2 separate regions of the Homo sapiens genome follow, and region 2 is linked to region 1. The links are contacts of gene promoters, found by promoter capture Hi-C in blood cells and fetal thymus (Javierre and others, 2016). All regions are on one chromosome and are shown on one strand. The core of a region is centred on a gene start or on the middle of the fragment in contact, and the rest is flanking DNA. Distances in the headings are between cores, read along the strand shown.

Region 1 (4,054 bases), core at 693-3,192:
CGTATGCCTCATGTTGTTCATCTTGCCAAAGACAAAACAGACAGCTCTAATCTCAGCTAATCAACCATGAGACAAAGAATGAGAAGCTGAAAAGTCTGTCCTTGGCCTTGCCGGCAGACTCAGGCAGAAGGGAAAAGGTCTGCATTTGTCCTTGTCACAGGTAAACAAGGGGGTCATCCGTGCATCATATGGGAGGCATGAGAAAGACAGGACTGTGGGTCTGATGAAGTCATATGTGGAAGGGTAGTTCTTTCTGATAAGCTACTTCCCAGAACACAAAAGTGTGGAGGATTTTAGAAAACAAAAGGTTTGGGGGTGCGTGGGTGAGATTTCTTAACTGTGGCTGTTTTCTAAGAGCACACAGCTCAGGTTAATTACAACATTGTCAATCAGTAAAATGCTGAAAATATTATTCATCTCATAGATGTGGTGTGAGAATTAAAAACTTTTTTTTTTTTGAGACAGAGTCTCACTCTGTTGCCCAGGCTGGAGTACAGTGGCGTGATCTCGGCTCACTGAAACCTCCATCTTCCGGGTTCAAGGATTCTCCTGCCTCAGCTTCCCGAGTGGCTGGGACTACAGGCACATGCCAATACGCCCAGCTAATTTTTGTATTTTTAGTAGAGACAGGTTTCACCATGTTGGCCAGGCTGGTCTGAAACTTGTGACCTTAGGTGATCCATCTGCCTTGGCCTCCCAAGTGCTGGGATTACAGGTGTGAGCCACCGTGCCGGGCCTGGTGTGAGAACTAAAGAAAACAATCTATATGATTCACTTAGCACAATGCTGGGCACACATATAGGCTGCACGTTTTGCAAACAAAAATACAGAACAATATAACATCCTACATGCACAATAAAATGAAGCAGTTTTTGGGATTTACTTACACTAAAACATTATCTAAAATTTACATTTAACTGTGTGTTCTATATTTTGTCTGGCATCTCCCGGCATACAGTTGTGTTGACGATAAATATTATGGCCATGGATTGAAGATTTATTTTCAATCCATATTACCTGGACAGAAGATAGGGCTCTCTTCTACTAAATACAGCTTTTTTTCTTTTGGAAGACAATCCACTGGCAGGGTTGGGGACTGGGGAAGTGGTGGCCACAGCCCATCTTAGGGCTTCTTCAAAGGCGAGCTGACCTACCTTCTCCGTGCCCCATTCCCTGTCTCTGGCCCTGGTAGCCTCCTCCTTCTTGGAAGCATGGAGGTGGAAACACTGAGGTGGCAACGAGAGACTCCCACGGAATCTCAACGCCTGGAGGGGAGGGATTTTCTATCCATGGCCATCTCTTCACCCTCCAGCACAAAGTTGGGTGACTAGCAAGTGCTCATTCAGTGCTGATGAACTTCAGTTCAAAAGCATCAGGTGCAAAGAGAGGGAAGACGTGTGCTCCTGATTTATTTTTAATAGCCCACATTTGACATGGAAAACAAAAAGTTTCTCTGAAATCCTTGGAAACCGCTGCAGTGGGGCGGGACCCTGGTCCCCGGAGCTTTAATGCACATCTTGGGCGTCACTTTTGGTTCTAAGGTGGCCCCAGGTCCCTCCTTTAAGATGGGAATAACCATGCCTGACTCTTTCCCCACGGACACCACACTGTCCTAGTTTGTGTTCTCTACGCGACCACGAGCTCCTTGAGACAAGGGGTTGAGCCTGCTCCGGCTCATCCCGAGAGCCGGCGCAGCGACTGGCGCAACGAAAGGGAAATGAACGAATGAATGAACGAACGAAAGTGGAGTGGTGGAGAGGACCACAGAAGACGCGGTCATCCAGCGCGTGAACCTTCACCACTGCTGGGCTGTGGACCCTCACTTCCGCCGCCAGGAAGTTTCGGGGTCGCCCACCTTCCCTCCCAGGCTGCTCCGCGTCGGCGGCGCCCCGCGCGATTGGCTGCGCCGCCCCCACGTGACGCCGGGGTGGCGGCGGCGGTTGCCCGGGTGACGGCTGCGGAGGTGGCGGCCGGGCTGGGATAGCGCGAGTGTCCGCGGCCGAGCAGCAGGTAAGCGCGTCCCCGGATGCAGCCGGGCCACCCTCCGCCCGCCGTCCTGGTGCTGGGAGGAGCAGCGGTGCGTTTGGAGGGCCGAGGCTCTGCGGACCTCTTGTTCCGAGGAAAAACCCGACGCGCCCGCTCCGCCGCCGCCGGATGCTACCACTTCTCGCCTGCGGTCCAGGGATCTTTCTTCGGCAAGGGCCGAGGCGGCCGCCTGGACATCCCAAGAAAGGACAGGCCCAGCTGCTTCCCGCAAGTAGTCCCTGATCTTTGCTGCAGTGGGCCATACTTGGAGGGGGTCCCTCAAGCCATCCAGCTGGTGGTGGCGGCGCGAGCGGGTTATCCGGGATTTAGATCCCCCTGATAATCTCCATCTGCTAGCCGCGTTCCTGAGGCACCCAGTTGAAGTCCAGACTTCACCTAATCTTAGGAAAAACAGGATGCGTGCTATGCAGATTCGGCTTCCATACAAATCCCATAATCCCACCCGTTTGTGGGCCCTAAATCTTTCTTATATAGGAATTCAAAAGCTGCCGCTGCAATCCCCAAATGTAACTGGAAAAGTTTTTCTTAGTTTCCGCATAAAGGAGAGCACTGGTTCTCAAACTTGAGAGTGTGTAAAAGTCACTCAGGGAGCTTGTTTAAAAGGCAGATTTCTGGGCATGGTGCCTGCCACGGTGTTCAGTAAGACCAGGGTGGAGGCAGGAATTTTCATTTGCACAAGCGTGCCAGCTGATTCTGATTTAGGTGGTCCAGACTTTGGGAAATACTGTGTAGTGGTTCTTTTCAGCCGCTTAGTCACTTACTGTGGCTGTTGGGAGTGTGTCAGACTTCCTGGGCCTCAAATTGCCTCATCTGGAATGGGAAAATATAAACTATATTCACCTGTCAGGTTTACTATGAAGGTTAAATGTAAAACATTTTGCACATTGCCTGGCATACCATATACCTTCAATAAATGATACCTATTATGATATAAAAGTTTAGAGAAAATTCTGTAATTTCTTTTTCTTTTCCTTTTTTTGAGACGGAGTCTTTCCCTGTCGCTCAGGCTGGAGTGGAGTGGCATGATCTCGGCTCACTGCAACCTCCACCTCCTGGGTTCAAGCGATTCTCTTGCCTCAGCCTCCCTGGTAGCTGGGATTACAGGTGCAGACGCCACCACGCCCGGCTAATTTTTGTATTTTTAGTAGAGATGGGGTTCCACCATGTTGATCAGGCTGGTCTCGAACTCCTGACCTCAGGTGATCCGCCTGCCTCAGCCTCCCAAAGTGTTGGGATTACAGGTGTGAGCCACTGTGCCTGGCCAATTCTGTAATTTCTAAGAATGTTGAGTAATAGGATACCCAGCAGCACTCACATTCAATGACAGTTGATCACAGCAGATACTATTTAAACGGCTTAGGGAGGTCTACTCTAAGGAGGTGATGTTTATTAGGCACAGTGGTTAACCAGGTGAAGAGAGGGAAGAGTGTTCTAGGCGGAGAGAGTAATATGCGCAAAGGCCTTGAGGTTGGCCTCAAGGTTTCAAATTCTCAGAAACTCACTTTTCCCGTTCCAGGGCCTTTAAAATGACATCCCCTCAGCTCCGGCTTCATTTATTCATTATATGCCTTGAGTACCTTTCTTGCTTACTAGACACTCTGTTAGGTTCTGGGGATATGAAGTTGAAATACAGCTCCCTGTCTTTGTGAACAGGGTTATAAGAAGTGCCAGGTGCAGTGGCTCATGCCTGTAATCCCTGCACTTTGGGTGGGTGAATCGCTTGAGGTCAGGAGTTCAAGACCAGCCTGGCCAACCTGGTGAAACCCTGTCTCTACTAAAAATACAAAAATTAGCTGGGCGTTGGTGGCGGACGCCTGTAATCCCATATACTTGGGAGGCTGAGGCAGGAGAATCACTTGAACCTGGGAGGCAGAGGTTGCAGTGAGCCAGATTGCACCTTTGCACTCCAGCCTGGGCGGCAAAAGTGAAACTCCATCTCAAAACAACAAAATTAGCTGGGCGTCATGGCGCATGCCTATAACCCCAGCTACTTGGGAGGCTGAGGTGG
Region 2 (4,054 bases), core at 493-2,992, 200 kb after region 1:
AGCCAGGGCCACACTTGCAGGGTGAAGTGGGGAACTCGGAAGGCTGGGCAGTGGAGCAAAATGCTTGGTGCCCTGCGGGAACCGGTGGCCAAGGCTACACTGGGATGAAGGGAGCCGTGGAGCTGCAGAATCTGCGGGTGGCCCTCAGTGGCAGGCAGCCAGGCCAACAGGGGCTTTGGGCTGCAGGTCAGCCCCTCCCCTGCTCTGGAACTTTTGGAGGGCCATTACAAAGGACATCAGCCCCAAGATACTCCTCTGAAATTCTGCCTGAAAGGCCCTTCACATTCCCTAATTGGCACTTACAACATTCCAGAACATTCTATGGTACCTTAAGTTTCTCCTCCCCCTCCAAAGGGCCCTTGAACCTTAAGGATAGGGCAGAAGGGGCTCCTCACCCTGGCCTCGAGGGCTTAAGATCCAGCTGAGGACTCCTAGCCTCCCTGTGTGCTGGGCAGGAAAGTAGCTCCATGTCACTGCTGTCCCTGGGAAAGGAAAAAAGGTTGAGGAAGGGCTCAGAGCCAGCCTTCAGACCAGGCAGGAAGGGTTCAGAGCCAGCCTTCAGGCCATGCAGGCCTCCTGGATGTGCTTACTAACTCTGGGCTCGCTGTTCTCTGAGCTGGCTGGGAGTTCCCCTCTGCACCCCCGTTTCCTCCCCTGTAAGGTGGGAATAATAGCGTATGTCTCTAGGATTAAGTGAGCCAGTCATGCATGGGCCGAGAACCAGGTTTGGCATATTGTAGCTGCTCAGTGGACGTTAGCTGTTATGATTGGACCACAACGTGCTTCCGTTTCAATTCTGTGGGCCTTTTGGAGGTCCTGCTGGATGCTAAGCACCGAAACCTCAACCCGGAACAAGACCAGAACAACCTGAGCAACAACAGGACCAGCGATGGCTCTCCCTGCTGGAGGATTCTGGAAGTCACCTGGCTGGACCAAGCCCTCTCCGTGTTCTCTGTCAGCCCACTCCCCAGAGCCGCTAGGCCTGATGTGCACAAGCAGACTAATAAAGGCTTGAGGACAAAAAGGGTTTTGAGTGATAAGTGAAAAAAGAAAGGAGATAGGGCTGGGCCAACAGGCCTTCCCTTGGTGGTGGGGAGCCCTCAGAGGTGGGAGGAACCCCAGAGGTGAAGAGAGGGACATGGTGGGGGCACAAAAAAAGCTTCCAGAGCCACAGGCCTGGGCGAGTCCTGACATGGAGCCCAGTCTCATACGGCCTCTTTCCCTAGTGGCTGGCTTTGCTCCTGGCCCTAGGTAGCCCAACAGCTGGGCAAGGGGTCCGTCTGGTCAGGGGAAAGGTGCAGGGGCAGAAGGTAGCAGAGGGAGAAAAGGACACCCTGTCTGCCTCTGGCCCCAAAGACAAGTCCGAATGGGGCCAGAGGGAAATGGCTGGGCCTTGGGGTGCCCCAGGGTCTTGGAGGGGACCGGGTGTTCAGGTTTCGCACAAGTACAGGAGGGACCGGCGACCGCCCTCCCCCCGCCCCGGGAGGCTCCGCCAGGGACAGGCGTCCCCGGGATTGGAGGTGACCCCCGTGGGTTCCGAAGCCCCGCCTCGGCCATGCACTGTCTACTAGGCGCGCTTGGGGAGCCTAGGGGCCGTCTCGGAGAAATGGGGTGGTCCCCGCCAGGCGGCGGCGGGGCGGGCCCTGGGCGCCGAAGGGGTTAAGGCACCTGGGCCACCGCCCCTGCCGGCCCCTCCTCCCGCGGCCGGGAAGAGGAAAGTCGCGGCGGGGGCGCGGCCCGGTCTCCGTCCCCACCCGCCCGCCGTCCCGCCGGCCCGAGCCGTGGCGCCCAGAGCTGCGAGCCGCTCGCCCCTCCGCCGCTCCGGCCCGGGCCGCCATGTCGCTGTGGTGAGTGGGGCTGGGGGCCGTCGGGGGCCTGGGCGGGGGCGTGGGCCCGGGGCTCCCCCTCCTCCGTGGCCACAGACGGGCGCCGGGACTCCCGGGATAGGAGATGCCCCCGCGCGCGCCGCGCCGGCCTCAGTTTCCCGGGGGCGGATGGGCGGGCGGGCGCGGCGGCGGCGGCGGGAGATGTTCGCGGTACGCGGCCCCGGACCCGTGGGGGACGTCGAGGGGTCTCGGGGCGCCGCGCTCAGCTCCCCGGCCCCGCGGCCCTGGACACCGCTCCAGGACCCTGGCGGCTGGGACCCCAGGTCTTGCCGGCAGCTGGGTCCCCTCTCCCTTCCAGACCCCTGAGGGCCCCCTGCGTCCGGGCCACTCTCCTCCTCTCGGGGCTTCCTTCCGCGGGACCTCGGACCGCCGCCCGCCCGGCCCCTCTCCGCCCCTCCCGGGCTTTCCCTACGAATGGAGCGGACCCGGCAGGTGGAGCGCCCGCAGCCCAGGGCCTCGCCGCCTTCCCGGTGCACCCCCCGACCTCCCCCGTCCCGGCCTCGGTGGGCGGCTTCCCTGGAACCCCTAGGGCTGGCAGGGCCGGATCCGGAGCCCTCCGTTTCCTCCCCGGAGAGCTGGACCTTGGGTCACACCCCCCAGCCTGCACCTAAGGTGCCCCTGTCTTCCTCCAACCACATGCCCCAGCAACCTGGGGACCCTATGGGGAAAATGTCGCTCTATGGGGCTCAGCCTGCATTCACCCTGGGGCCTGGACCTGCAACCGGACCAGCCCTCAGGGCAACCCAGGCGTCTCCACGGGCTGCCTGTCTCTCCTGGCACCCTGCTCCTCCCCCTTGGAGGTCAGCGCCATCTCTCTGCTAGGCTGGCCCTGGAAGGCCACTCTGCTGTCCCCAGAGCTCTCAGCCCCCAGGTCTCCACTGGGGAGGGTGGGGCAGGTGTCCTGGCAGCCCCCGGAGGGTGAGATGAAGAGAGGAGGTCCTTCAGGACAGGGGCTCAGGCCCCAGGGCTTGGGACGACCAGCACTCCTGGCAGAGAGCTCTAATTTCTGCTTCCGAAATGGGTGTGGACCGGGGTTGGGGTGGGGGGGTCTCTGGGCAAGAAGGGTCCCTCAAGGGCTGGAGCTGCAAATGTGCCCCCTCCCAGGGAGTAGAGCTGTAGCCTCATGTCTTCTAATGGGGTGTTATGAGCTGGGGATGTTAAGGTAGGGGTGAGGGGCAGTGCCATGCTAGAGGTGCTCACTGCATCCTTGGGCCTCCATCAACCATGAGGGCTGCTCTTTGTTGGGTGAGACAGACTGGAGAAGGGGGAGGAGGGCCAGTCTTCCTCAGGTCCCAAGCTCGAGCCACTCTCCAATGTGCCCCACATGTGATGGAGCTCCCGGGCGGCACAGAGGATCAGAGGGTGCCCTCTCAATGACTCTGGCTCTGAGTCACCTAATGATACCGATACCTACTGCTGTGGGTAGGTACACCGCAGGGAAATGAAAGGCATTGGGGTTCCAGGCGTGGGGAACAGGGCAGAGGTTTCCACCTGAGGCCCTCCTGTTAAGGTGACAGCATTCCCCTAACTGTGCACCCGCTGCCTGGTACTTTATATAGCACTCCAATCCTGTGTTTTAGCCCCATTTGGGGGAAGAAGAAATCGTGGCTCAGAGTGGTTGTAAACCACTCATTCAGCTTGTAAGCGTCAGGGCCTGATTCCACAGTGCTCCTTGAGGAGAGGGCAGGGTGGGAGAAAGAAAGGGCAGGGTGGGAGAGGAAGCGGGACCCTACCCTGACAGCTTAGGGACTCCGGGACTGAGCCTGTGCCCAGGTCCACTTGCCCGTCTGGGACCACCCAGCCTCCCAAGGGGGGCGCCAGGAGAGCCCTGGGCTCATCTTTTCTCTCTCCTCTGTACTGTCCGCTCTCCCCCACAGGAAGAAAACCGTCTACCGGAGTCTGTGCCTGGCCCTGGCCCTGCTCGTGGCCGTGACGGTGTTCCAACGCAGTCTCACCCCTGGTCAGTTTCTGCAGGAGCCTCCGCCACCCACCCTGGAGCCACAGAAGGCCCAGAAGCCAAATGGACAGCTGGTGAACCCCAACAACTTCTGGAAGAACCCGAAAGATGTGGCTGCGCCCACGCCCATGGCCTCTCAGGGGCCCCAGGCCTGGGACGTGACCACCACTAACTGCTCAGCCAATATCAACTTGACCCACCAGCCCTGGTT

What was found. The method cuts DNA at HindIII sites, captures the fragments that hold promoters and counts their contacts. A CHiCAGO score of 5 or more calls a contact.
Region 2: a contact is called between the fragment with the promoter of B3GNT7 here and the fragment with the promoter of ARMC9 in region 1, in 12 of 17 cell types (endothelial precursors, total B cells, erythroblasts and 9 more). The highest score is 12.0, in endothelial precursors.

Annotation. Positions count from the first base shown.
Region 1 is chr2:231,196,689-231,200,742 of GRCh38, forward strand. It overlaps ARMC9 (armadillo repeat containing 9), which reads left to right and starts at 1,943. Exons shown (of 25, transcript NM_001352754.2): 1 at 1,943-2,010. RefSeq lists a silencer at 1,749-2,088. The HindIII fragment of the contact is 12,461 bases long and covers 1-4,054 here.
Region 2 is chr2:231,393,968-231,398,021 of GRCh38, forward strand. B3GNT7 (UDP-GlcNAc:betaGal beta-1,3-N-acetylglucosaminyltransferase 7) reads left to right here and starts at 1,743. Exons shown (of 2, transcript NM_145236.3): 1 at 1,743-1,847; 2 at 3,764-4,054. The coding sequence starts at 1,837. RefSeq lists enhancers at 1-529, 825-874, 3,143-4,054, 3,285-3,354 and a silencer at 1,425-1,894. The HindIII fragment of the contact is 8,411 bases long and covers 1,158-4,054 here.